5 separate regions of the Homo sapiens genome follow, and regions 1, 3, 4 and 5 are each linked to region 2. The links are contacts of gene promoters, found by promoter capture Hi-C in blood cells and fetal thymus (Javierre and others, 2016). All regions are on one chromosome and are shown on one strand. The core of a region is centred on a gene start or on the middle of the fragment in contact, and the rest is flanking DNA. Distances in the headings are between cores, read along the strand shown.

Region 1 (5,351 bases), core at 2,449-4,948, 1.7 Mb before region 2:
CAAGTTAAAGAGCCTTTTGTTTCCTGTCACTCTCCTTTCCTCTTTATATTTTAAAATATATGTGGTATATTTTAGGTAGCTTGTGAAGATGTAAAAACCAAAGAGGAGAACAGCCTTTGATGCTGTTTCTAATATAATTTGAAACAATGTTGTTCAGATGTGTGTGCTGTTGAATTGTTTTTAACTGAATTAGTATGCCATAAGTCACTATTGGTTTTTGGCCAGCAATTTCAAATATATTGTATATTGATATGTTTATCTTATGCCTTTATTTAAACATTTATTTTTTAGAAGTATTTTTCTTTATAATAATTTGCTATTTTTTTTTTACAACTATAGTGAGATCAACAAATGCTCCTGGTTAATTAGATATGACAAAAACTTACTCTTATTTATATATAACTTTAAAGACTATGGTAATCCAAATAGGAAAACTTTGTGATTTCAAAGTTGTAAAGAGAAAATTTATAAACAGCACTCAAGGGGCTAGAAACAAACCATATATATATATATTTTTTGCTTTTGGCCACAGGTTGCAGGACCTTTTCCAACAGGAAAAGGGTAGAAAGAGACCTTCAGTTCCTCCAAGTCCTGGAAGACTGAGACAAGGGGAAGAAAGCAAGGTATGAAATGTAGTCTTGTCTTTGGTCCTTAATCAATAGAAATATAGTTAGTTTCATTTATAATACTTAGCAGGGATAGTTTAATATGTACTTTAGTAATGATATCCAGTAGGGTTTTCCATTTTGAATTTGTGAGGTTTCAAGGAACTATGACCTGGATTACTTTTATGTTATAACCTGAAATAAAATGATCACTTATAATTTATTTATTTGAAATGTTTATAAAAGCTACAGTTTGCTGCATCACTGAGGGTAGCATCATGGTGACAGCAAGTGCTACAGAGGAAAGTCAGTGGATGCTCTGAGTATAATAGGGTGCTCATTTATTTTATACTCCGCAGTTTTGGTTGTTTTTAAAATCTCCGTGCTTAAATAAGAGGTTTTTCTTAAGGTATTTGAACTGCGTAAGTTCTTTTTCAACTGTGTTAGTTTTCTCTTGCTCAGTGACAGATTATCCCAAACATAGTGGCCAAAACCACAAATTTATAGATAGATATATCTATATAGATATTTATAGACAGATACATCTATATAGATATATATAGATATAATACTTAGGATTATCCCTTACACCTAATAATCTTGTATAGATCTATATCTATCTATAGATCTATCTAGATATATATCAATCTATCTAGATATATCTATCTGTCTATCGATCTATCTATCTAGATAGATAGATATATCTATACCTAGATGCTTAATTCCAGGAAGCGAGCTACTATTTAGAATGCAATTCTCAAAGTGTGGTTCAAGGACTCCTGATAGTCCAAGACCTTTTCAGGGACTCTGCAAAAATTTTTTTTTTTGAGAGATGGAGTCTCACTCTGTCGTGCATGCTGGAGTGCAGTGGTGCGATCGCGGCTCACTGCAACCTCTGCCTTCCGAGTTCAAGCAATTCTCCTTCCTCAGCCTCTCGAGTAGCTGGGATTACAGGCGTGTGCCACCACACCCAGGTAATTTTTTGTATTTTTAGTAGAGATGGGGTTTCTCCATGTTGGCCAGACTGATCTTAAACTCCTGACCTCAGGTGATCCATCCACCTTGGCCTCCCGAAGTTTTGGGATTACAGGCGTAAGCCACCACACCTGGCTCATTTTTATTTTTTTTTTCGATTGCATATCTGTATGAAGCTAGATTTTCTTCATATACTTCAATCATAATGGTGTATCTCAACAGATTACATGCAGAAGCCAAATATGAATCTAGCTATTTTCTATTTAGCTAGACATTAAAGATATTTTTCAAAATGTAAAGCAGTGCTACTCTTTCACCAATTTTTTTTTTAAATTTTAGAAAATCGGTATGTTACGTGTTTAAATGTTACTTATATTAATGGGTTTATTATTTATAAATGAGTTCATGCACATTTAATAACTTTCTCTGTTTTAATTTCTAATAAGGTAAAAATTTCTAAGGTAAACAAAAGCTAATTAAAAATATTAAGGGGGTTTTTAGTAATTTTTTAACGGTATAAATGGGTCCTGAGACCAAAAAGTTTAAGATTCACTGGATTAAAAAATTTTTTGAATGTGATTTTCATGTTTTCCATAAGAACAAAGTATTTACTTCTCTACAGATAAGTGCGATGGATGCATCTCCACGGAATATTTCTCCAGGACTTCAGAATGGAGAAAAAGGTTGGTTCTTGAGTCTGGTGATCACTTGCCGTAGGATTTAAAGAAATTTCTTATTGTATAAGTTGTTTTAAACTGTTTGAGCAGTTTTTCCGATGCTGTTGTTCATAGACTTCTTTTCCTTCCTGTAGAGCACTTGTAATCCTATCAGATTAAGATTATCATATAGTGTATTGCAATAAGATAAATCAGGTTATAGAAATACATGAAATATAAAGAAGGCTGCTATTAGGGGAAGAAAAAACAGAAAAAAGTAAATTGAATTTTTTTTGCTTATTACAAAGTCAATCCCCAGGTTTCATTGCAAAAATCTTATAAAGTTTAATTTACATTTTTAATGTCACTAAAATATTGTCTAGACCTAAGATGTCTTTCACAGTATTTCATTGAATAACTTGGTGTCATCATAGAAACTTTGTGGGGAAATTTACATAGACTGTAGAACCAGGAGCTCAACTTACAATTCTTGGCATTTTTCTATTATAATTGCTTTTTCTCTCCCAGAATAAGCATGCCGTCTTTCTCAGAGTGTCCTAATTTCATTCTCTATTAAACTAAAAACTAATATTTAGGTAGGCATTGTGGTATAATGGATAGCGTGTTGGATAGGAGTCAGTCTTGGTTGACAGTTGCGGTACTGCTACCAGGATTTGATTGTAGTCAAGTCATATATAATCTTTCTGGATTTTTGTGTCCATTTCTATGACATGAGCTATATGACCTAGATGATTTTTAAAAAGTAAAAATTCTACCTTTTAGGAAGTAGGCATATGAATGAGCATTTAAAAAATATTAGGTAGACATGGACTTAATGTATGTAAATGACTCATTTAAGATTGTGTTTTTCTTTAGAGGATCGCTTCTTAACAACTTTGTCCAGCCAGAGCTCCACCAGTTCTACTCATCTCCAATTGCCTACGCCACCTGAAGTCATGTCTGAACAGTCAGTGGGAGGGCCCCCTGAGCTAGATACAGCCAGCAGTTCCGAAGGTAGAGGTTAAGTCACTTTTACCATATTTCATTGTATCTAAGACTGAAAGATATATCATTGATTTACATGAATTACAGCCATTTCTCTAAGGACAGATATTTGCTTCATAATAACAGATTCATGCCTTGCTTTCTGTTTAGGTGGTAACTACTTAAATTATAGTATAAACTTTGAAATTAACTTTAAAATTGCTATTTAACTCGGGTGTAATAGCCACAGTGCTTCAGAGATGTTTAAAAAAAACAAGTGTCCCTTGGAGTCCATGCTGTGTATGCTTCACTGTTGTTTCCTGTTTTATCCCATAGTGGTCTTTTCCCTTGATCAGAAATTTTAAACTGTTATTGGTATAGTATACATATGTCCATATTCCGAAAGGAAAAGAACCAAAGTCAGCAGTTTATACTTCTTATTCTCTGTGAATATTAATATATAAGTAGACTATTTTTCATTTTAGATGTGTTTGATGGGCATTTGCTGGGATCCACAGACAGCCAAGTGAAGGAAAAGTCAACCATGAAAGCCATCTTTGCAAATTTGCTTCCAGGAAATAGCTATAATCCTATTCCATTTCCTTTGTAAGTATTATTAAAACCAGTGGCTCTTAGCAGGGGGGTTATTTTTCCTTAGTTGCTCGCTTCATATTTAAATATATTTATCTGATGCATGATTTTTCAATCCTAAATTTTATTTCATTTTAGTAAAAGAGATGTCTTTTGATACAATGTAATTTGTAGAATATATAATCATTATGATATAGTAGATGAGTGGATAAAGCACTAGCCAGTGTTACTTATAAATGTTTGAATTACTTGTTCTGGAAACACTTGTTTGTTTATCTTTTTTCAAAGATATGTGGCTATATCCACTGATTTAATAATTATAAAAACATATTGCTGGTTATATATGAGGTTGGTAGTTGATTTGCTGGGACATGGCATTGTCCTAGCACTGATGATGAACTACAGTGACTTGTACAAGTTTTCATGTGATCTTTTTTTTATGGGGTGCACTCAAATTTGGAAAGAATATAGGCTGGCTGTGAAAGTTTATTTTTCTTCCACTGGTTGACCCATGTGGCTATCAAATGCTGCCCTTGTTATGGAACAAGTATATCCAAAAAGTGGACATTTTTGTTAATAAGGCCTTTTATTTTATTAACTGACTTACATATTTATTCAATCAGTATTTAAACTTTTATTTAGTGCCTGTTTAAGTGTCCTGTGATGTAGAATAAGATTTGTAAGGAACTGTCATCACTCTTAGGAGCTCATAATCTTTGGGAAGATACAGTTAGGGCTCACAGTACAGTATGTGATATGTTACATGACAGTAAAATATAAAAGGTCCCTTTTTTCTCTACTTTAGACCTGATTATATCAGTTTCTTGATTGGGCTTGGATCCCTCTTATGTTATGGTCTTTGTTCATGCTCTCACATTTATTTTTATTTTTTTAATTTTTATTATTTTTGAGACAGAGTCTCCCTCTGTCACCCAGGCTGGAATGTAGTGGTGTGATCTTGGCTCATTGCAACCTCTGCCTCCTAGATTCAAGTGATTCTCCTGCCTCAGCTTCCCAAGTAACTGGGACTGCAGGTGTGCGCCACCACACCTGGCTAATTTTCGTATTTTTAGTAGAGACGAGGTTTCACCATATTGGCCAGGCTGCTCTCGAACTCCTGACCTCAGGTGATCTGCCCACCTCTGTCTCCCAAAGTACTGAGCTACTGGACCCGGCCCTTTAAACTTTTTTTTTTAATATAGTTTTTTTCTTTTTGTTTGTTTCTCTTCTCTCTAAACCACTTTTTGTGAAACACAGTCTTTTTTAATCATTCAGTCCTGTTCTTTCTAAGAAGAATTTACTAGACCTTCCCCCTTACCTCCTGCTCCAGTCAGAGTAGGTTTCTATTATATGCTCTTATGATTCCTGTCTTGGTCCGTTCATGCTGCTCTGATGAATTACCATAGACTGAGTTGCTTGTAGACAGCAGAAATTTAATTCTTACAGTCCTGGAGGCTAGAAGTCTGAGATGAGGGTGCCAGCATGGTTGGGTTCTGGCAAGGGTCCTCTTTTGGGTTGTAGATTGCTGTTGTCTCTTTGT
Region 2 (5,850 bases), core at 1,011-3,510:
AGATACAGAGTGCCCATTGGTGCATTCACAAACCCTGAGCTAGACACAGGGTGCTGATTGGTGTGTTTACAAACCTTGAGCTAGATACAGAGTGCTGATTGGTGTATTTACAATCCCTCAGCTAGACATAAAGATTCTCCAAGTCCCCACCAGACTCAGGAGCCCAGCTGGCTTCACCCAGTGGATCCCATACTGGGGCGGCAGGTGGAGCTACCTGCCAGTCCCCTACTGTGCGCCGGCACTCCTCAGCCCTTGGGCGGTCGATGGGACTGGGTGCTGTGGAGCAGGGGGCGGCGCTCCTCAGGGACGCTGGGCGCGCAGGAGCCCACGGCATGGAGGGGAGGCTCAGGCATGGTGGGCTGCAGGTCCCGAGCCCTGCCCCGTAGAGGGAGGCAGCTAAGGCCTGGCAAGAAATCCAGCACAGCAGCTGCTGGCCCAGGTGCTAAGCCCCTCACTGCCCGGGGCCAGCAGGCCAGCCGGCCCACCCAAGTGCGGGGCCGCAGAGCCCACGCCCACCTCGAACTCGCGCTGGCCCACAAGTGCCTTGCAGTCCCAGTTCCCGCCTGTGCCTCTCCCTGCATACCTCCCCACAAGCTGAGGGAGCCAGCTCCGGCCTTGGCCAGCCCAGACGGACTCCCACAGTGCAGCGGTGGGCTGAAAGGCTCCTCAAGCGCGGCCAGAGTGGGTGCCAAGGCCAAGAAGGCACCGAGAGTGAGCGAGGGCTGCCAGCACGCTGTCACCTCTCAGTCCAAGTTACCACTTCCGTCTTTTACACAGAGTACAAGTGCTCTATTCTGACCCCTTAAGGATTGCTCTTGCTAAGTCCATTTATCCCCGCCAAGTGGTTTTACTTCTGTCTCTTTTCCTGACCCTAGGCACATTTAGCATCAGGATACTCATCCATTTCTGAACTGTGTGTGAACAGCACACAAACCTATCACAATTTGTGAATGAGCATTGGAGAGGTGTAGGGGCCAAGGGAAAACTTTCCCTTCACCCTCCAAAGGTTTGCTGAAAATCACTGACAGAAAGAAGATTAACAGGAGAAAAGGCATAAAAACTTATTTGATTATAGTTTTACCTGACACAGGAGCCTTCAGAATGAAGACCCAAAGGTACAGGGGTGATTACCCATTTTTATACTTAGGTTCAACAAAGTATAGACAGCCATGTAGAAATACGATTGGACAAAATAGGCGATCTAATGCTAATAGACTGACCTGGCCTTGGCCAGTCTAGTTTAGATTCCTGGCCTCTCTGTGCAGCATTCCCTCCTCCTGGATATGGGATAGAACCTTCTCTAGAAGAGGAGTTTTATAACCTACAGTTGAGATGGGTCAAATAATTTATGGCCAGTTTTTACACAGAAAGGTGGAGGAAAGTTAGAGTAATGCTTTTGGGTTTTGTGTCTGGCTTCAGGGAAAGGGGGTTCCGGTTTCAATGACTCTTCTTAGGGAAGATGGGCTCCAGTTTCTATGACCTGCCTCCTAGAATGAGACTGAGAAGAGAGCAGGGCAGGAAGTCAGAGAAACACTGTTGCGTCTGAGGCCTTCACTTTGGGCTATCATTTTCTGAGCCTCAACAGAGGGAAAAACAAAAAAGGTAAGGAGGAACTGCAAAGGCAGAAAAAGAGGGTAATATAATAATAACTACCATTTTGTACTGAGCACCAGGCATCCTGCTGGGCGCATTACCTGGCTTCACTCATTTAATACAACCCTAAAGCTGGGCACTGTCTTTACAGATGAGAAAACCGAAGTTAAGAAGTGATTTGCCAGGTCACCCAGCTAGTATCTGGCAGAGCCAGGGTTCCTCCAGCTCAAAAGAAGAGCTCTAGGAGAAATACGAGGAAGAAAGGTTTTTAATTGTTGTTTTAAAGGGCCAGCATAGGCGCTGGAGAGGAAAGAAAGGCATATGCAAAGGGTGGAGAAACAAAAAGTGATGTTAAGTCAAGAGCCGAGGAGAGGGAACTGCAGGAGAAGCAAAGTGAAAAAAGGTTAAGAAACGCCTTGAGTACTGCGAGGACGTTAAGATCCAAACAGCACAAGAAGGAAGGTCAAAATCAGGTGTACGAGGCCCGTGTGCCCCGCCCCGCCCCAGGCGGACGGCTGACAGCGCCCCACCCCAGGAGGAGGCGGGACTTCCTCACCGCAGAGTGGCTGCTTCCGGTAGAATCCGGAAGCCTGTACGGAGAAGGGGCGGGGCCAAAACTGCGCGCCCAATCGGGGTGACGCTCTAGCCTTGCCGGGGACTCGTGGGTAACTTGCTTTTGGGAGCCAGCGGTATGGCGTCGGGCTGCAAGATTGGCCCGTCCATCCTCAACAGCGACCTGGCCAATTTAGGGGCCGAGTGCCTCCGGATGCTAGACTCTGGGGCCGATTATCTGCACCTGGACGTAATGGACGGGTAACTCCTCCGGGCTCCGGTCGGGCTTGCCGCGCGGCGGGGCGGATCAGTGCACCTTTATTGACTGCTTGTTGGATGTACCGCGTCCCTGTACCACCGAGCGCCTCACTCTGAACGCGATGCTAGAAGGGGTGTGGGGTAGGAGCCCTGGAGGCTCTAGCAGGAGCAGAACCGACGCGGTATCCTGGGTTGCGGCCGGGTCCCAAACCTCAGTTCCTCCCCTCCCCCCACGTAACGTGTGGTCTTCCATCACTTAGGACCCGGAAGCGACCTAAATCTTTAGGACATTTCTTCACTTTCAGCTAGAGAAACTGAGGCCCAAGGGGAGAAGCATGACTTGCCCAAGCTCATATAGCTAGTTAGTGGCAAAGCTGGGGAAACAGACTTCTCTAACGATTTAAGTTGGCACCTGCGGTTAGGTTCCCGAGTTCTGCCACTTGCTGGGTTACCTTGGACAAGCCACTAACCTCATTGAGCTTCAGTTTCATAATTTGAAAAATGGAACTACTAACAGAACCTACCGCTTAGGCATCTTGGAAGATGAAATGAGCGAGTACATGAGAAGTTTACAGTGCCTGGCGTATATTAAGTTCTCTATAATTGTTAATTACATCATTATTACAATTCTGATTTTCCTGTCTATTTTCTCTTCAGGCACCCTGCTCTTCAGGGAGGTCAGTTTTTTGTAAGTAATTTTTAAGCACCGTAGTTACAGCACATAATATTGTTTGGAGTCAGGATATTAGTTTCTGAAGTTGGTTACAGAATGAGGAAACAACCCCAGAGAAAGCAGTAAGACTCCCTCAAGATTACAGAAGATTGTGACAGACTTGCAACTTGGCTCTTCCTAGGTTTGCCAAGTAGTTCTCTGAGCCCCACTGTTAACTGACTATAAAAATCATAAATACCATTATCTTGAGTGGGGATGGAAAAATAAATTTATTTTAAATAGGTAAAAACCCTGTGTTCCCTCATTCAGTTTGCAAATTGGTGTTATTTTCTAAAGGTGATGATTTCCTTTTCTTTTTAATGTTAATCTGGCTTTGAAGAGTTTTATCTTCCATTGCTCTATGTGGTTAAATGTATTGTTTCTCTTTGGCATTTTACCCAGTTACCTTAGGAGTCCACCCAACTGATAATGACAAAACTTTGACCATAGAGTACTAAAAATAATAGGCCAAATGTGTAAAAAGTTTAGTAAATATTACCTCTCACAAAGGTTGGCTTTTAATTGGCCATTATATGTAATTATACTTATATACTTTATTTTTGACATCTTTGCTTGAAAGCCCTAAACTGTCACAGGTAATAATACCCTGAGTGTCTACCTCAAAGGTAAGTAGCTACATTTTTGTGCCTGAGAAAATACCTAGAGGGTCACAGGATGGAACAGCTATGTGTATATTTGTGAGTCTATTTGAGCAATTTGGTTTTAATTAAACTATGTTTGAGTAAGTTAATGGTTGGGGAAAGTAATTGTTTCGGTTCACCAGTCAGGATTATTAATGATAACCATAGTAGCAATGTTTATGAGCACTTGACTGTTTCTGTTCTGGAGTTTTTTTGTGAATTAACTCAAACAACCGTTTGAAATTGGTGGTGTTATTACCACCAGCATTTGACAGCGAGGAATTGGGCACAGAGAGGTTAAGTCATCTGCCAGTGGTCTCATAACTAGGAAATGGTGGAGCCAGGGTTGGAAGCAATGCAACAGCTTGTGTTGTCTCAAATGAAATGCTTTCTGTGGTTCCTAGGCTTACAGGGAATGACTAAGACATTGTTTGGCCTCAAAAAAGCAACTAATAATTTGTGTATTTATTTCTGTTAACTGTATACTTATTTTTGTTAACTTATTTCATGTCTCTCCTGCTACCCTATAAGCTTCCTGAAAGCCAAGTTTATCTTCTTTTTGCTCACCTATATATTCTTTGCTGGAAAAGCACCATAAGGTGCTTAGTTATTGTTGGCCGAATGAATGAATAGCTTAATCATAATAGGAGAAGTCTCTCAGAAGTCACTTTTGTCCCCTTGCAGCTCTATGGCAGACTGAGCTCAGTAAGGCAAAGTATTTACCATGGATCAGAGTTTTGGGAACAAAAAAATAAAAAATGAAGTATTTGTTTTTTATTGATTCCTCTTCCCCTTTGCCAGGAGATACTTTGGTTTGGAAAAACTGAATTCTGCATACACAATTTTAAAATTATTTCCCTTTTAATCTTCTCTACTTTCTGAGTTAAGAGCTGTTTCTATTCCCCTTTTGCAAAGGAGGAAACCAGTGTAGGGAGATTCAGCTTCTTCCCTGATGTCTCACCAGATTCAGCAGAGCCTGGCAGAGTTGGTGCCAGTGCCCCTACGTGATGTGCTGTGGTGTCTACTAGGCTAGGGCTATGAAAGTGGGCTGTGGACTCCTTTTTGAAATGTGGCCAGCCACAATGTCCCTTCCCTCCCAGGACTGCCTTCGTGTTTTTTTTTTCCTGGCCCCTTTTAAAAATCTCATCCAACATTACACTTTGGATGTGCTTATTGTTTTCTAGTCTCCTCCCCACTAAGACCTCCAATTTCTCCCCTGATTACAACTGAATTTCTTCATTTAGAAAGTCAGAAACCAGTCTGGGGAATACTGTGGAAGGTGGAGCACTAGCATGACTGGATATGTGAAACAAAGGACAAGTGGATTCTCTGGGGGAAAAAAACCCTAGAAAACACATAAATGCATCATGACAGGACAGTGACTAGAATGTGTTCATCCTAACCATGGGAACAGAGCAAAGAATTAATTTCTAAATTCGCTACCAGGATTTAAAACTGGGACGATTTCACATTAATACTGCATTTCTGACTTTTGGGGGAAAAAAAAAAACAGTTCAAAGACTTGCTAGCACTGGGCCCTCAGTCTTACCAGGTGACATGCGCTGGAGCTGACAGGGGCAGCCTCACCTTTAGTCATGTGGGGTGTACTTCATTTGGCCCCTTTCCCTATCTGCTCTGTTTTGCTCTTTGATGTTACCTAACTCTCAGCAGCATTGAGTTTGTGATTCCTGATTCACAGGAAGATTGTGTTCTAGTTACAGTCCTGTACCTTTTATAGCAACTCTAATCCTCCTCTTACCATCTTTGCCTTGTTGGGAGATAGGGTAAATGGCTTGATCTGTCTGCAGTAGATTGTGTTAGAATTACGTAAGTAAAGCTTAGGAGTGATGATGGAACATGAGAGAGAAAATTGTATCCTTGTATTACAAAAAATTATAGTGTAATTCCAGTAAGTCCCTGGAAGAAAGGGATACCTTTTTATTTTATTTTATTTCTTTCACACTTAACTAACTCCAGGAAATAACTTAAAGGAAAAAGAGGCAGAATAAGATAATGATGAAGCAGACTTTTTAGTGAAGTTTCTCTCTGTTAAGTGAAATAATTAAGTGTTTTCCAAGCTGGTCTGTTAACTCC
Region 3 (5,427 bases), core at 2,478-4,977, 1.5 Mb before region 2:
ATTGGTCCATTTCCAACCCTTCTGAACACATCAAGGAGAAAGTTTTATTTTGGTCCTGGTCTTGAACAACACTCACATGTGTGGTGTCTTTCTTTGGGGGTAGGGGGAGGTAAGACAGGCAACCCAATCTAGATAACATTTCATAAGGCTTTTTGTTTCCATCATATGTATTTCACAGTTGTCTTTTATTTATAAAAGCTTCTACTGGTTCTTTATTTATGTTTAATGGTATGAAATATGAATTTTAATAATTTAATGAAAGTTGATTGAAGAAAGATATGAAGTAGGCAATAGTAGGTAAATAATATCAATATGGCAAAATCATGATGATGGCACCCTAAATGACTTATTTGGAGAACACTGGACTGGACAAATTCCTTTAACAATGAAACCTGAAATTACACAAAAGTCCTGGCCAGTGTAAGCAGTGGGTGTTCACATGGTTGTGGGAGGCTAGTTGTGTTTCATGTGATCAGACACTTTAGAAGTGTACCGTATTGCATTTTACTTACTAGCTCTGTCTTCCCTGTGTGCTCCTCATGGGGAGGGATGATCTATTCTTTTATTTTCCTAGAATGCCTGACCTTTATTGGTGCCTAGGAAATATTGGCTGAATGAAAATATAAATATATATTTAATGATATTACTTATAGTGGATCATAAGATTATATGATAAGCATGCCACATGTAGGTACCTTACAATCATTTAAAATATAGTTTTCTTCATAGTTAACTGGCATAAATATATCCATATTATTGTTTCAATTTTATAACTGACAATACCGGCACACAGAGAAGTATGTGACTTAGAATTATAGGGTTTTGGAGCTGGGGGTATCTTAGATTTTGTTGAGTCTTACTAACTTTACTAGTCTACAAGCAGTCAAACTCATATCCAAGGTCATACAGGTCATTAGCAGAGGAGGTGCAACTCATAATAGTTTTTATTATAGGGTTGGTAGTTGTGTGAACAAGTGTATGAATCCTGTGTGAACTCTTAACCAGTTGCTGACTGTACTATGATTTAGCCCCTTTTAAAATGAAGTTTTCTAAAAAGGAAATTGGATATTGTAATATCTACTTCATAGGGTTATTAGGAGGACTATGTAAGATTATTAAAGGGCTTAATATAACCTATGAAAAGCATTCAGTAAATAGTAGCCTATAATACGGCAGTAATACTACTACTAGTGGTAGCGTGGTAATAGTAGAGGTGTAGTAACAGAAATGGTGGTTCATGTAGTAGTGATATAAGCTTATCCAAGTCTTTCTGACGCCATCATGAAGTTCAGAATAGGGAAGAGACAACACCAAACTCTGTCTGGAGGGCTTAATAAAGGAAACACCAAGAAGGTGAGATTTGAACTAAAATTATAAAGGAAGACTAGAAATCACTTACCTAAATCACTTAATAGGTAAAGCGCAGAGAAGGGTTTTCCCGGCATAGAGATTAGCCCATGCCAAGTGGGCATGTTATGTTTTCTATGGCTGGAAGGAACAATGCATCTGCAGAATATGCAGGAGATCAGACTGTGGAGTTTGATGGGAGTGGACTCACATGTCATGCTAAAGCACATTGGAATTTTCCTTAAAATTGTGATGAGACATCAAAATATTTTAAGCAGGTTAGTAAGTGGGTCAGATTTGGGTTTTAAAAAGAAAACTCTAGAGGTGTTATGATGGATGGAGAAGATGAACTAGCTTGGAGACGCAAATGTCTAAGAGAGGTACTATTCACCTTTAAGTGCATAGTCCTGTTTGATTGATTCTGACATCTGTATGAGAGACTGTACTCTTGATGCAACCTTCTAAGAAAGAGACAGGAATTAAAGAGTTTTATTAAAATGGTAACAACTGTAAATAACTGTCAGCTGCTGATGTGAGTAATGGAAGGAGATCAGTGCTGCAGCAGCTGGTGAGCTTGGGCAGCAAGCGTGATGGCAATCCATGGTTTTTGCTATTTGATGAGAGTTAGTCCCACATATTCCATTCATTTAAATCCATTTCTTTGGAGATGCTGTAAAGTCTCAAAATATTTTCCTTTATAATGAGTTGATTCATCTTAGCTGAATTAAAATGTGAAAATGCAACAAGGAGAACTTTTTTTTAAAGAACCAAGAAAAGGTAAATATTGTCATAAAATGTAAATGTATAACTAATTTAATGACATATCTTTTATATTTGAATAATAGAAATTTCTTCCAGGGTCACCTTTCTTATAGTACATACATCTAAGCTATGCTTACAGAATAGGAGTAATAAAAGAGAAAATCCTAAACTCAGTGTTTAAAGCAACCCTTAACTGGCATTAAAAAAACAAACACACCATAAAACCTATTAGGGAATTAGGGTCTGGCACTCATTGAGACTTTAGAATTCATATGCTTATTTTTTGCAGTAGTTCAGGCAGTAGTTCCTTTTCTGGCAACTCCATAAAAATAATTCATAGAATCAAAGAATGTTCAAGTTGGGAAGCATTTTGGGGATATCTTGTCCAATGTTTATCTGACAACATTATTGCAGAGATTTTGACCTTTAAATAACCCTCCAGAGAACTAACGTAACTGACACCTTGTGGTTTGCATTAGAGATGTTGATGGGTATTAGGAATATATGGGGCAGTGGAGATTCTTTCTTTTTCAGGTCACTTTTTATTGGCATATATTTACTTACTTTTAGATGTTTGTTTCATCATGCCTCACATCATCATTGTGTATCCAAGCTAAGAACTAATCTTTCTGGTCAATAAACAGTTTGTGGTGTTTATCATGGGTTTGCTCATTGTATCAGTAATGATCAAATTTGAATATTGAATGACATTGAATGACTAAGCAAGTAGGTGACTCCTGAGGAAGCTGCATACTACATAGAGTGCATTAAATACTGAGCTAAATTTTTTTTAAATAAATGTTTTGTTTTGCATACCTGTCCCAAGGTATCTTAGGGAGCTCTGGCAGAAGGAATAAGATGGTATTTCTAGTAAAGGCCTTTAGGAAATATTTTAGGTGATAAGTTTAAAAAATATTATATCTAGTGCACTTTTCAAAATATGAAAAGAAAGGGACAAACAAGGTACATGCTTCTCAGCTGCTCTTGGGTGAGTGATTCATTTTCTCCCAGTTGCAGGGAGAGGTGCAGTCACCAAAAACAAGGGTTGACTAGGAAGGAAGGAATTTTAAGAAAAATGGATAAAATTTAATCTCTGATCATTGACACAATTATAAATACCAAATTGATTTTTCCCCCAGAGAAAAATCTCCCCTTCAGAACTCCTTTTCTTTTCTAAGTCAGTTAGAAATATAACTTTAAATGAAATTAAAGCTCTAACATTTGCCATAGAAACTGTCTCCAAGTTATAAATTGAATTCCAACTGATTAGAAATGAACTATATATTTTGTCTTTATATTTGTGATACAGATAATCAAATTATAGTATTTGATAGAGATCAGGGAGTTTATTACCTGTTATGTAAAAGTTCAGCATTTAGTACCAATATGCAAATAAACAAAGCAAAAAAGTTCTTATGTTTGTGATATTGAAAAATAAGCCAATACATGGGGTGAGCAGATATGATGTATTTAGAGTGTCTCTGAGGGAAACTAACACATAGCATCTCTCTTGGCTGCCCTGATTCTAAACATGTTAAGATATAAAGTAAGGGAGTGAGGGAGAACCTTATTGCTGCGGGAGGCTGGGGTGGATGATGTGACCCTAGCTCAGTTAGACAAGTGGATCCACTGAAGAACCCCATAATTAGTCAGGATCTTCCCACCTGGGCACAGGATGCTGAAGGGTAGGCTCCTATCCCTGGAGACGCTGCAGAGAAAGTCTGCTCACTGCAAGTTACCTTTTCTATGCCTAAATTTTGACTTCTTTAAATGATTACATCTTTTGCGAGTTATGCCTAGAAGTGAAAATTCTACATTGAAGGGGGATGTGCTGATTTACCTCAGTATAAGTAGTGTTTAGAGCACGCATATCTCATTTGCCTATTTATTCACTCTCATTGGACAAATCTTGATTAAACACCAAGAACATTGCAGGCCCTGTGTGAGGCAATGGAGAGGAGAGAGTAGAGGAGAAGATAGACATGAATTTCTTCTCCCACAGCTAAAGTTTAGTGAGTGAGACTAACATTTAAACATGAAAAATGCTTCTGAGAATAAGTGACATTCAGCCTGAACCCTGAGAACTTGGCTAGGAAGGGCGAATGAGTGGAGAGAGTAAACGATCCAGGCAAAGAAAACTCCAGGAACCAAGTCTCAGAGACAGGACAGCCTGAGCAGCCGGCACTTCCATGGCTGAAATGTTTTCTTTGTTTTAGTTCATCTGTGGTTCACTCTGAACAAATCTTTACTTTTATTTAAATCATTAATTGCAGACTACATATTGGGTACAGTGTACACTGCTCAGGTGATGTGTACACTAAAATCTCAGGAATCACCACTAAAGAACTTAGCATGTAACAAAAAAAAACCCCTCTACCCCAAAACTATTGGAATTAAAAAAATGAATCTTTAATTGCAAAATAATTTGATTTCTATATTTGCATTATTTTAAAACCATATTTACAAAAAATTCATTCTATGTGTTATTGGCTTTAATGTTTATTAAAGGTCATGTTATTCTAAGCCATCTCTCTTTTTTTAAATTTCTTTGCTTTGTTTTGTCTGTAGTTTGCTTCAAGCAAAATTTTTCCTACATGAAGTTTACATGAAATACACAAGAACCTTTTAATGATTTTTTTCTTAGAATTATGTCTTAATTTAAAAAAATTACTACTAGTACTAGCACTACTACTAGTACTAGCACTACTACTAGTACTAGCACTACTACTAGTAGTACTAGCACTACTACTAGTACTAGTACTACTAGCACTACTACTAGTACTAGTACTACTACTACTAAAATCTCACCAGAAACTTCCTCTTTGTCTTATTCTCTTTTATTTCTTTTGCCTGGTATAAAATGTCACCTTCCCATTTGCAGACTCAAGTCTTCCTTTAGTGCAAGATTTTTCTTCTGTTATGTTTTTATTGATTTATTCTATTGTTATCTTTTCTTCAGAAAAAGAAGTAATCTGCCACATCCTCCAGATAGGCATCTTATACCTCATATACCTCCTCACAGCTGTCTTTGTTCTTCTTCTTTTCTTTTTTTAGTGGCTTAAAAGAACATGCGTTTGTTCTCTTACAGTTCTGGAAGTCAGAAGTCCTAAAATCAATGTGTCAGCAGGGCTGCCTTCCTTCTGGAGGTGCTGGGGGGAGTCCTTATCCTTTTCAGCTTCTAGAGGCCACTGGCATTGCATGACTCTTGGTCCCTTCCTCCATCATCAAAGCCAAAAGTGTAGCGATTTCCACTCTTATATCCCTGGCCACATCCTCACTCGAACACCCTTTCTCAAACTCTCAAGTCTTTGTTCTTTT
Region 4 (5,756 bases), core at 2,255-4,754, 1.6 Mb before region 2:
CTATACTGCATATAGGAATAGCCCCACCTTAAAGACTTTGATTTTAAGGACATTAAGTGGGAGGGTCTTTTTTGCCTTTTTTTTTTTGACTATCAAAATACTTTCACATTTCTTCAATTCAAAGAACAACTGTTCTAAATTTAGAAGACAGACAAGTGAAAGAGAATATGCTGCCATTTCCGATGGTTCTTTTTTACTCTTGATCCATCACTCTCCTGTCTTTGGCTGACTCTTTCTCCAAAAAGTACCCCTTATTTTTCCTATGCCTTTAACTTCTGTTTTACTTACTCTATTGTAGAACTTTGAGAAGTTGTACACCACATTCACTGCTACCTCACATTAACTCTGCTTACTCATTGCAGTCTGCCTTCTGCTCCTCAATGATTGCTCCTGTGAAGGTCATCTTTGGTTTAGCACTTGTTTGAAATCTAATAGCCTAAATGCACATCGATTACTGTTTAGAATTCAAACGACATTTATTTATTTACTTTGAGATGGAGTTTCATTCTTGTCGCCCAGCTGGAGTACAATGGCATGATCTTGGCTCACTGCAACCTCCACCTCCCAGGTTCAAGCGATTCTCCTGCCTCAGCCTCCTGAGTAGCTGGGATTACAGGCACCCTCAACCACGCCTGGCTAAGTTTTGTATTTTTTTTAGTAGAGATGGGGTTTCGCCATCTTGGCCAGGCTGGTCTCGAACTCCTGACCTCAGGTGATCTGCCTGCCTCAGCCCCACAAAGTGCTGGGATTACAAGCGTGAGCCACCACGCCCGGCCCAAATGACATTTATTTTTAAAAGCAACTAAACCAGGAAAGACCTTCACTCATTCAATCAAAAAACATGCATTGAACACGTATTCTTGGCTAGATCCGGTGCTGCAAAGATGAAAGACGCCACTCCTAGCCTCAAGGAGCTTGCAGTTTAGTGGTGGCACTGGATGTAAAATAATCATAAGATGTGAGGTGAAGACTGATGAGGTCTATTTTGTTGACACAGGTAAACATTCTCAGAGAATATTTAATTAGCAACATGACAAAAATTAGTTGATTTATTTGAAGGATATTTAAGTGAATTTAGAGATGAGATTTGTTTTTACTTTTTTAATTTCAGAGAGTTATGTTGGTTGCAAAAATCTTTGTTTTCTAGTATCTATTTTATAAGCCATCTGAGACCAGGATGTTTTCTTTTTAACATGTAAACTTGATGCAGTCTCTTTGTAAAGTAATGAATCCCCCCGTGAACCTCAAGGAGAAGAAAGTTTAGCTTGAACACTTAATTTCAAGTACCTTGAGAAGGGAACAGGCTGTATTGCTCAGAGAAGAAGGCTCTATTAGCTAAGGTAGAAGGACAATGTAAAACTCTTGTGAAGACACCTAAATGTCATTCCACTCAAAGCCCATTATTAATAATTTGAAACTGTCTGCTCTGTGAAGGCAACGACCTATCTTTACTCATTTTTGACTCTGCTAACATTTCTTTTTATAGTTGAACTAGAGGCAAGGCAAGGAACTTGACATGCTTGTTTTCCCTTTAGAATAAAGTGGCCAGAAGCAGTTTCTTCTGTGTGATCCAACACTTTCTTATCCCCAGAGCAACTCTGCATAGTCTAGATGTACCAGAGCCCAGCAGCCTGTGAGGTGATGTGATGTGATGTGATGTGAACAGAAAGGCTCCATGTTGGATGATGCCTATGAATCTAATCAGATTCTCTTTCTTGGTCATTTTGATTTCCAGAGAAGGCAGTAGAAGCAGGTTCTGTGTGTATAACCAGAGACTAGAGGGAGGAACTGACAGGGAAGCTGGGTCATGAGAGTGGTGTGCTCAGCAGAGTAGGGAGTAAGAGAGAGCTGGCTCCAGAGAGGATGACAAAATGCCCATGTCTCCAGCACTTCTTTAGCATTCTGAGTTCCCATCCTATCATGAATAGGAAGAGTTTTCTAGCTCTCCATGAAGCCGAAATAGGTTTCAGACTTTCCTTTCTTTCCCACACACATAATAAATACCCATCAGGTAACCTGGGCATGGCCTTTTATTTAGGCACTAACAATTCTAAAAGGAATTAATAAATGCTTCACTGCCATTTCACAGTGTAACAGCATGCCAGTTTACCATACCATTAACATTTAGCCTCGTGGTATTTCTGTGTTTTTTCAGTCAGTAATGATGGCATTTTTGCCAAGATAATATAGTGTTAAACTGTATTGGTTGAAATCCTAGGCTTTTTAAATGTAAACTAGCACTTTACAAAGTATTACAAAGGAAACGAACCAGGGAAACTTGAGAAGGAACTTTCTTATCCACATTGTTATAGGTTATAAAATAGTTCCTATTTAAATTAAAATACCTACTGTTGCACTTTTATGTGTGTTTTTATATATAAATAACATCTGGGTTGGCAAATATGTGATTTTCGTCAAATAGGCTTTGATTGAAGATGAAATATTTTTGTAAAACTAGTCCTTTTTTAAAGTTAAAATTTTATGTTACCACATGAATTGATCAGCAGAAATTTATTTACATTATGTAAATTGATTTTTAAGAGTATCCACAAGGTTTTAGCTATTATTTTTGAACTTGCTTCCTAGCCCACACAATTAAGTAATAAGAGTAAGAAAAAAGAAAGCACACATCCAAATCATCTATCAAAACCCAGCTTCTACCCAATGACACATCATTTTATTTCTTGATCTTGTAATGTTGAGCACATGCCTTGGACATATTCCTATATGTGGGCTCTATTCTCTGCAGCACGTCACTCCCTCTTTTATCCGCCCCTCTTATGTGCTCCCACTCCTATCCTCTTCAATTAAAAATGCCTCTTTCTTTTTTTTTTAAGTTAATTAATTAATTAATTTTTTTTTATTGATCATTCTTGGGTGTTTCTCGCAGAGGGGGATTTGGCAGGGTCATAGGATAATAGTGGAGGGAAGGTCAGCAGATAAACAAGTGAACAAAGGTCTCTGGTTTTCCTAGGCAGAGGACCCTGCGGGCTTCCACAGTATTTGTGTCCCTGGGTACTTGAGATTAGGGAGTGGTGATGACTCTTAACGAGTCTGCTGCCTTCAAGCATCTGTTTAACAAAGCACATCTTGCATGGCCCTTAATCCATTTAACCCTGAGTGGACACAGCACATGTTTCAGAGAGCACAGGGTTGGGGGTAAGGTCATAGATCAACAGCATCCCAAGGCACAGGAATTTTTCTTAGTACAGAACAAAATGAAGTCTCCCATGTCTACTTCTTTCTACACAGACACAGCAACAATCTGATTTCTCTATCCTTTCCCCACCTTTCCCCCTTTCCTATTCCACAAAAACCGCCATCGTCATCATGGCCCGTTCTCAATGAGCTGTTGGGTACACCTCCCAGACGGGGTGGTGGCCGGGCAGAGGGGCTCCTCACTTCCCAGAAGGGGCGGCCGGGCAGAGGTGCCCCCCACCTCCCGGATGGGGCGGCGGCTGGGTGGAGGCGGGCCCCCACCTCCCTCCCAGACGGGGCGGCTGGCCGGGCGGGGGCTGACCCCCCACCTGCCTCTGGGACGGGGCGGCTGGCCGGGCGGGGGCTGACCCCCCACCTGCCTCCGGGACAGGGTGGCTGCTGGGCAGAGGGGCTCCTCACTTCTCAGACGGGGCAGCTGCCGGGCGGAGGGGCTCCTCACTTCTCAGACGGGGTGGCCGGGCAGAGACGCTCCTCACCTCCCAGACGGGGTCGCGGCTGGGCAGAGGCGCTCCTCACATCCCAGACGGGGCGGCGGGGCAGAGGCGCTTCCCGCATCTCAGACGATGGGCGGCCGGGCAGAGACGCTCCTCACTTCCTAGACGTGATGGTGGCCGGGAAGAGGCGCTCCTCACTTCCCAGACTGGGCAGCCAGGCAGAGGGGCTCCTCACATCCCAGACGATGGGCGGCCAGGCAGAGACGCTCCTCACTTCCCAGACGGGGTGGCGGCCAGGCAGAGGCTGCAATCTCGGCACTTTGGGAGGCCAAGGCAGGCTGCTGGGAGGTGGAGGTTGTAGCTAGCCGAGATCACGCCACTGCACTCCAGCCTGGGCAACATTGAGCACTGAGTGAACCAGACTCCGTCTGCAATCCCGGCACCTCGGGAGGCCGAGGCTGGCGGATCACTCGCGGTTAGGAGCTGGAGACCAGCCCGGCCAACACAGCGAAACCCTGTCTCCACCAAAAAAATACGAAAACCAGTCAGGCGTGGCGGCGCGCACCTGCAATCCCAGGCACTCGGCAGGCTGAGGCAGGAGAATCAGGCAGGGAGGTTGCAGTGAGCCGCGATGGCAGCAGTACAGTCCAGCTTTGGCTCGGCATCAGAGGGATACCGTGGAAAGAGAGGGAGAGGGAGACTGTGGGGAGAGGGAGAGGGAGAGAAAAATGCCTCTTTCAATATGTAAGGTAAGATTGATAGATGATTGCCTTCCGTAGTTCCTCCCAAAATTCATAGGTTGAAATCTTAGCCCTCAGAGTGGTGGTATTAGGAAGTATGGAGCCTTTGGGAGATAATTAGCTCAGGAGGGTGGAGCCCTCCCGAATAAATTTAATGCCTTTATAAGCAAGACCCCAGAGAGCCCTTTCACCCTTTTCTACCCTATGAGGACACAGCGAGAAGACAGCTGTCTGTGAACCAGGAAGCAGGCCCTCACTACATACCGAATCTACAAGCAACTTGATCTCAGACTTCCCAGTCTCCTGAACTGCGAGATATAAATGTTTGCTGTTTAAGTCACCCAGTCTAAGGTATTTTTGTTATAGCAGCCTGAATGGACTCAGGCGGTAGGCAAGAGGAGGACAGTGCACCTGAGTTATACATTGGGCAAGTCATTTACCTTCATTGGAGCCTCGGTTTACTTGTGTTAGATATGGGAATAATGATAGTTACACTGCAGGGTGGTTGTGAAGATTAGAGAAAGTGCATATACTCTGATCAGCACAGTGCATGGTACTTCAGTACACAGTGTTAACTGAAGACACAGTGTTAACTGAAGACACAGTTGAAAACTAAAGATAGCTAGTGAAACACATGTTCTCTGCACATCATACAGTTTCTTGGGCAGTTTTCAAAGTGTGACTCTGCAGTTCATACCACCATTATCACTTAGTCTCTAACAAATAATCATATTTGACACATTTGGCTGGGACTTAATAATTTTATTTGGGCAGCAGCTGGTTTCTGGAAGTGTTCATGGGAAGAAAATGTATATTAATAAAGTTAGCAGGTAATGTTCTTTGTTGAAATGTTGGATATTGTGGGACACAAAAGAGTCAGGGTAAATGTACATTTACAGAATTGAGCGTCAGAGTGTCATAGTTCTCTAATGATTTACAAAGAAAGAATTCCTGGAACAAGTGAAATACTTAATAATTAATTCAGCCTGTATTTCTGCAGGTAATCAACTGCAGTGATAAAAAAATAAAAATGGAACTGTCTTTTGCTCATTGGAAAGATATTTGCTGCATTCAAAGTCATCAAAAAGGCGAAGCAATGAAACTTAAGACTTTTGGGTTTTAATAATTAAAAATCCATCTTAAAGAGAACCTTGGGCTCTGGCACGGTGGCTCATTCTTGTAATCCTAGCACTTTCGGAGGCCCAGGTGGGCGGATCACTTGAGGTCAGGAGTTTGAGACCAGCCTGGTTAACATGGTGAAACCCCATCTCTACTAAAAATACAAAAATTAGCTGGGTGTGGTGGTGTGCGCCTGTAATCCCAGCTACTTGGGAGGCTGAGGCACGAGAATCACTTGAACCTG
Region 5 (5,885 bases), core at 282-2,781, 1.6 Mb before region 2:
TAAAAAATAAGTGGTTATCATTGATTTCATTGTCATTTCTAAAGTGACCAAACAATAATGAGAATTATATAGGTGGGGAAATATTGGGTGTAAATATGTGTTAAAATGTCAGAGGTTCTCAAAAAGATTTTTTAAAAAGCCAGATGTTCTGAATAAGAGATTGTCTTTAATTAACACTTGAGACTTCCAAGTTCTCTAAGCACTGTTAGCCTCATTTGTGCTCTTAGACATCGCTCATCTCTAGGCAGGAGCTAGTCTTTTTAAACAGAAACTCGTACCAGGTAGGACTTTGTCCCATGGCATGTGGCACAACAGATAACCTTTCCTGCCCACTCAGACTGCTTCTGCATGTGTATCTTTATGGCAGTTTATATGAAAGAACATGGTCAGTTGACTTCAGTTGCCCAATCAATTATATAACAGCTTTTTCCCCCTTTTCTCTTTCATAATCTCAGGTAAAATGCCAACAGTGGTGTCTCCGGAGTTGTACAGGACTAGGTTTTGTGAGGCAATGGACAAGTATTTCCTAATGGTACCAGACCACTGGACAGGCTTGGGTCTGAATTGCTGAAATCAAGCACATATTTTGAAATGGACTGTGAAGGAAAAGGGGACAGGAACAAAGGACCAAAAATAAGCTACATGTTTTATTTCTTCATCGTGTTCACCACTGTATGCCAAGGCTTTTCAGTTCTGTGGCTGTTTAGACTGTCCGTAATGGAATGGTAAAACTCCATGAATTTGCACTTTGGTTTTTGATACCTGTGGAGCTGTCTGTAGGTTGGGAAGTGGCATGAAAATTTTCTTAAGCTAAAATACAGACATGTTTCAAAGGGCTAAAGTTGGAGATGAGTAGATAGGGTGAAAAATGGGTTAAATTTGCTAGCTTAATTGTTTTAAGAAGAAAACAGTGTCTCATAAATTGACTATCCTGGCATCACATTTAACATGTTATCTACTTAGAAAGCATTTGTAGAGCTGCTGAATTTGTTTTGTGTTTTTCTGTAATAATTTAATGTTACTTATTATCAGAATTTCTGAAACCTTTACAAAAATTCTGATTTATTCCATTAATGGCCGGTTAAACACGTGGGCATTTATTGTTTTATTGAGGAATTTGACTTAAACTGGGAATCCTGTCATGTTGTTTATCTTTCCAGCTTGCCTGTTTTTGAGTATGTTTGATGTTTTTAAAATTTTGTCTTCTCTGTGGAAGACAGGAGGCTACAGCAATTAACTTTAAGCCTCCTTTTAGAGATATTTTTAAAACTTGTTTAAAATTTTTGTGCAATTCATATATTAAATTGCACTTACTTGCATACGCTCATATTCTAGGGTTTTTTCTCTATTTTTAGGGTATCATAGTAAATCATTAGTAAATGAGTCTGTAGTTACTAAACCCTAATGGAATAATTATTAATGAAAGATTTTTGAAATATAAAAAATAAATTAGGCCCAATCCAAGAAATTGAGTGAGAAGGAAACACTTGTTTTATTCACAGAGGTAAAGTGTCTTTTCAATATAACCAGCAATTTAGGTGGCATCTATAAAATAAAAAATTTCTACTGTGGACATCCCCTTTTCCAACTTTCTACATAATGGCTAGTTCTGACTACTAAGAAATGTTAAGAAATAGGCCAAGTGCGGTGGCTCACGCCTATAATCCTATCACTTTGGGAGGCCTAGGCAGGCAGATCACCTGAGGTCAGGAGTTCAAGACCAGCCTGGCCAACATGACGAAACCCCATCTCTACTAAAAAGACAAAAAATTAGCTGGGCATGGTGGCATATACCTGTAACCCCAACTACTTGGGTGGCTGAGGCAGGAGAATTGTTTGAACCTGGGAGGCGGAGGCTGCAGTGAGCTGGGATTACACCATTGCATTCCAGCCTGGGCAACAGAGCAAGACTGTCTCAAAAAACAAAACGAAACAAAAAAAGAAAGTTATTCTTAGTAAGGAACTTCTTGTTTAATAGCATTTTTGTTTATTTTAAAAAGTGATCAGAAGTAGTAAACTATCTTTGAGGAAATACTGTAACCCCAGAATATTTCCTCTTGACTTCTTTTTGTAACAAGGATAATTTAGGGATTTATAAAGTTGTAAGGATTTCACTGTTTTTGGACTGCCTATAATAATAGCACATTAACCTTCACATAATAAGAAATCTGGACAAGTTCAGTTACACAGTATGATGAATACTTGAATTAGGAACATTGTGGAAAATTTGCTTTAGAGAATCAAGGCAGTAGTTTGGTATTTGGTGCTTATTAAAAATGTGGTTTGTTTTGAACTGGAAGCAAGTTGACCAAGGACTTATGACTAATGTGATGCTAAGTTCCACTTGGCCCCTTTTAAAAACGTGTATGTGCCTTTTGAAGATACACAAAACACTGAGGATTTTAGTTTTGAAATCAAAGACTATTAAAGGAGCTGTACAGAGGTAAAAAAATAAATGTGGAACATTATTAACTTACTTTGTGTCTAGGAACAATGGATTTTGTATCTGATTTAAAATGCCAACACTGTTTTGTCTCTGTTCATTTTTTCTGTGAGGATACTTAAGGTTATTATTCCTGTCTGTTTCCTGTACTCCCCTAGTCATGAGCACTTGAAGTACAAGGTGTCTCCCCCTAGGTGCAATTAGGTTGTTTCTTTGTTTTTAGTTTCAATTCTATGTGCATAGCAGGAATGCTCCACAGGAATGGCTTCTGACAATAATCTGTCCTGTTGATTTTGTTTTCCTTGCCCATGACTTGAACAACTGTGTTTTAAAGTACTGTAGTCTAGTAGGTAACTTTGTGGCAAAAATTTTCAATATAATACATTCTGAAACAATAGTTGCTGCCTTGCAAAGGTAATCTCTCATTTTAAAATTGGACAGTATTAATGAAGGGGAAATATACAATTTATTTCTATTGAGTGGTAGAACTATATGTCTGGTCCCTTGCTGCTCTTGTTTAGGCCACTATCATAGATATATTTCAAATATTGTACTACTCAGTGTTAAGTATTGAATGACTGTTTCCCTTTCCTTCAAGGCCTAGAGTATATTCTGAAAATTTAGGAATGAGGAAGAAATCTTAATACTTCCTTCCTTAACATACAACATGAGTCCCGAGAATAATTGATAGTAGCAAGAGAAAACTATGTCAGTAACATGTTGCTTTGTATAAAAATCTTATTTATAAATGTGAAGCTTTTTGATGCCATCAAAACTTATTAAAAAATAGGATTTACTTTTTTCTAATTCTGACCTAAGAAAAATAATGAGAACAAGCTGTTGCAAGCTCTTTTGTAGTCTATTGAATATTTTATAGATATTCAAAATTTCCTACAAACTATAATTTTTTCCATGATTTAGCAGTGAGTGATTTTCTAGCTTTGGCTCTTATTAGGTATTGTAAATAGTAGGGTTATATCGATATCAGCTTTTGTGATGGCATTGTGGTCATCAGCTTCATGACATTTTACCCATTTGCAGTGATCCTGTGTAAAACTGCCAAGGAAAGTAATTACCTGTAGGAGTTTGCTGAGCTTGAAGAGTGAAAACTGTTGTGAATGAGCCTGATCATAAAACGGACCAGGCCATTCATTATTCCTCAAGTGTTAATATACTGACTTATGCAGTATTCAAACCATCTAGTGCAATGTTTTTGTTTTTGTTTTTTTTTTGGTAACACAGGTGCAGTGTATTATAGAAAAAATAAAAACTACAATCATTAGCAGTTTTAATACTGCTGTGTCAGTTTTGTAAAAAATGTACATTATGTCTTTTGACATGTTGAATTTTAAACTAGGGAAATGACATTGTAAATCATAGTAGCCTCTTTTAATTTAATATGAAAAATGCCACTATATTGAAAGTACTTAATGTATTGTATATATTTCTCTACTTTGGTTCTAGCTATTTTATATGATTGACATGTTATTTAAAAGATAACTGCCTTGAACTTTTGGAGACTTGTACTGTAAATAAAGAAATCTTAACAATAAACTCAGAATCTACTTACTCCACTTAGTTTTGAATCTGCTTGAAGAAATTGACAACAAAAGGAAATGGAGTTTGTCCTGCAAGCCTAGTCTTTGTGTTACTGGTGGAGGGTGTCCAGGTTCTTGGCGTTTTGAACAAAGAATTGGACAAAACACAAAAAGCAAGGAAAGAATGAAGCAACAAAAGCAGAGATTTATTGAAAACGAAAGTACATTCCACAGAGTAGGAGCCCAGGAGCACTGGGGCACAACAGCTCCCGTTACAGAACTTTCTGGGGTTTAAATACCCTCTAGGGATTTACCATTGGTTAGTTGGTGTACACCCTGTGTAAATTAATTAGTGGCCTGCAATCAGTGTGATTGGTTGCAGAAAGCAACCCATCAGGCTGAAGTGAAGTTACAAAGGTTAAACCCTATGCAAGTGTCGTTGTGGAAAACAACCAGTCAGAGGCCGAAGTTACAAAGGTTACACCCTATGCAAGCATCTCATTGGTTGTGGAAAGCAACCAATCAGAGGCTGAAGTGAAGTTACAAAGTTACACTCCTATGCCAATGTCTGGTTGCAGAAAGCAGCCAATCAGAGATGCTTTCAATTTTCCGTCTGCCATGCAGAAAAGGGAAGAGGGTGCTTGCAAACGGAGTATTCCAGTCCTTTTGTTACTTAGATGTAGAAAGTTGGGGTTTTCCTTTTGATTTAGTTCTAGAAAGTCAGTGTGAATCGGCCTTAGGTTCCCTGCCTCCAGACTATTCTGCCTCACCTGGCCTAGCAGTGTCGCTTTCTGTTCATTCTGTTCATTCTCTTCCTGGTTGTTTAACCACTGGAGAATCCGTAACTTAAGGTAAACCCACAGTTCATTTCAGCCAATACTGGGCAAGCAGCATTCCCCTTCTTTCTTCTGATAGGGCACTAAAGGAAGTCCTGCCCTCTTCCATTTGCGATTGGCTGAATTTGTGGGTGGGCAGGGCTCTCCGCTGCCAGTGCCTCCGTGCTCCGAGGGACCACAGGTCCACTACGTGAGGGGAGGCTTCCCTCCCACAGGAACTCACACCTGTGGGCAGGAAGCCGGGAGGCCCGCCCCCTGCCTGGGTTCCTGCAGGGGAAGGCGAGGGTGGCTGGATAGAGCGTACCCTGAGAGGTGGTTGGGCAGGAGGCTGGGCTGGTGGCCAGCTGCGCAGGGAGACCGGGAGGTGGCAGATCTGCGGGGCGCCCAGTCACTTCCTCCACGTTCTCGTGCTGGGCGGGAGGAGCGGATGGGGCTTGGGAGGCAGCCTGCTCTCCAGTCCCTATCCACCCACAGGTTTTTTGGGTCGGAGAGGAATTATCTGATAAAATTCCTGGGTTAATATTTTTAAAAACGGAGAGTTTTTAAAAATGATTTTTTTCCCTCGAAAATGACCTTTTTATGCTTCGAAGCAGTTTGTCACCAGCATAGTGCTTTTTCTTTTCTCTTCTTTTTCTACGATAAATGAAAGCATTTCTTCAAGAAAAAGGCACAGGTTCCTTGAACAGGTAAGAAGAGCGCCCCACTTGTTCTCCCGCCTTCTGCGTGAGCAGCCCCTACGGGGTCTCCTACTGGTCCCTAGGAACTTTCGCCACACCCGGAGCGGCGGCCTCCCCGAGCCCCTCGGGGCCCCTTCCCTGGCAGCTGGGATGAGGGCAGCGTGCTCCTCGCAGGTTACTTGGTCCTGAGGTCCTCCCTCAGGCGCTGGGCATGCCTGGGGCGCAGAACCGCAGCTCTGGGCCAGACCCGGCTGAGACTGTGCTTGTGCGGCGAGTGGAGGCCGCTCCCGGGGCCCTGCCGCCCTCTCGCTCGCTCGGGGCTCTGGAGTCTGGCGGGCCGCAAGCCGCGCTGCCGGCTCTACCTGGCTTTGTCCATCCAGCCACCCACCAA

What was found. Contacts are between HindIII fragments. The CHiCAGO score rates a contact against its expected background, and 5 or more counts as called.
Region 1: a fragment that was not itself captured here is called in contact with the fragment with the promoter of RPE in region 2 in 2 of 17 cell types (M0 macrophages and monocytes); the score reaches 9.1 in M0 macrophages.
Region 3: a contact is called between a fragment that was not itself captured here and the fragment with the promoter of RPE in region 2, in 1 of 17 cell types (M0 macrophages). The highest score is 7.0, in M0 macrophages.
Region 4: a contact is called between a fragment that was not itself captured here and the fragment with the promoter of RPE in region 2, in 5 of 17 cell types (M0 macrophages, M2 macrophages, M1 macrophages and 2 more). The highest score is 21.8, in M0 macrophages.
Region 5: a fragment that was not itself captured here is called in contact with the fragment with the promoter of RPE in region 2 in 12 of 17 cell types (M0 macrophages, M1 macrophages, M2 macrophages and 9 more); the score reaches 20.0 in M0 macrophages.

Annotation. Positions count from the first base shown.
Region 1 is chr2:208,336,306-208,341,656 of GRCh38, forward strand. It overlaps PIKFYVE (phosphoinositide kinase, FYVE-type zinc finger containing), which reads left to right. Exons shown (of 42, transcript NM_015040.4): 28 at 533-623; 29 at 2,203-2,263; 30 at 3,113-3,250; 31 at 3,706-3,826. Among named protein-coding and RNA genes, the nearest start is that of PTH2R, 68 kb to the right of the region's middle. The HindIII fragment of the contact is 7,637 bases long and covers 1-5,351 here.
Region 2 is chr2:210,000,378-210,006,227 of GRCh38, forward strand. RPE (ribulose-5-phosphate-3-epimerase) reads left to right here and starts at 2,261. Exons shown (of 6, transcript NM_199229.3): 1 at 2,261-2,406. The coding sequence starts at 2,285. RefSeq lists enhancers at 2,270-2,319, 2,360-2,529. The HindIII fragment of the contact is 5,690 bases long and covers 1-4,285 here.
Region 3 is chr2:208,473,104-208,478,530 of GRCh38, forward strand. The region is part of intron 9 of PTH2R (parathyroid hormone 2 receptor); the gene reads left to right. Among named protein-coding and RNA genes, the nearest start is that of PTH2R, 69 kb to the left of the region's middle. The HindIII fragment of the contact is 4,948 bases long and covers 1,254-5,427 here.
Region 4 is chr2:208,374,030-208,379,785 of GRCh38, forward strand. It overlaps a transcript of PTH2R not described here. Among named protein-coding and RNA genes, the nearest start is that of PTH2R, 30 kb to the right of the region's middle. RefSeq lists an enhancer at 2,782-3,582. The HindIII fragment of the contact is 7,209 bases long and covers 1-5,756 here.
Region 5 is chr2:208,354,735-208,360,619 of GRCh38, forward strand. PIKFYVE (phosphoinositide kinase, FYVE-type zinc finger containing) reads left to right here. Exons shown (of 42, transcript NM_015040.4): 42 at 456-4,012. The coding sequence ends at 571. It also overlaps a transcript of PTH2R not described here. Among named protein-coding and RNA genes, the nearest start is that of PTH2R, 49 kb to the right of the region's middle. The HindIII fragment of the contact is 3,331 bases long and covers 1-3,197 here.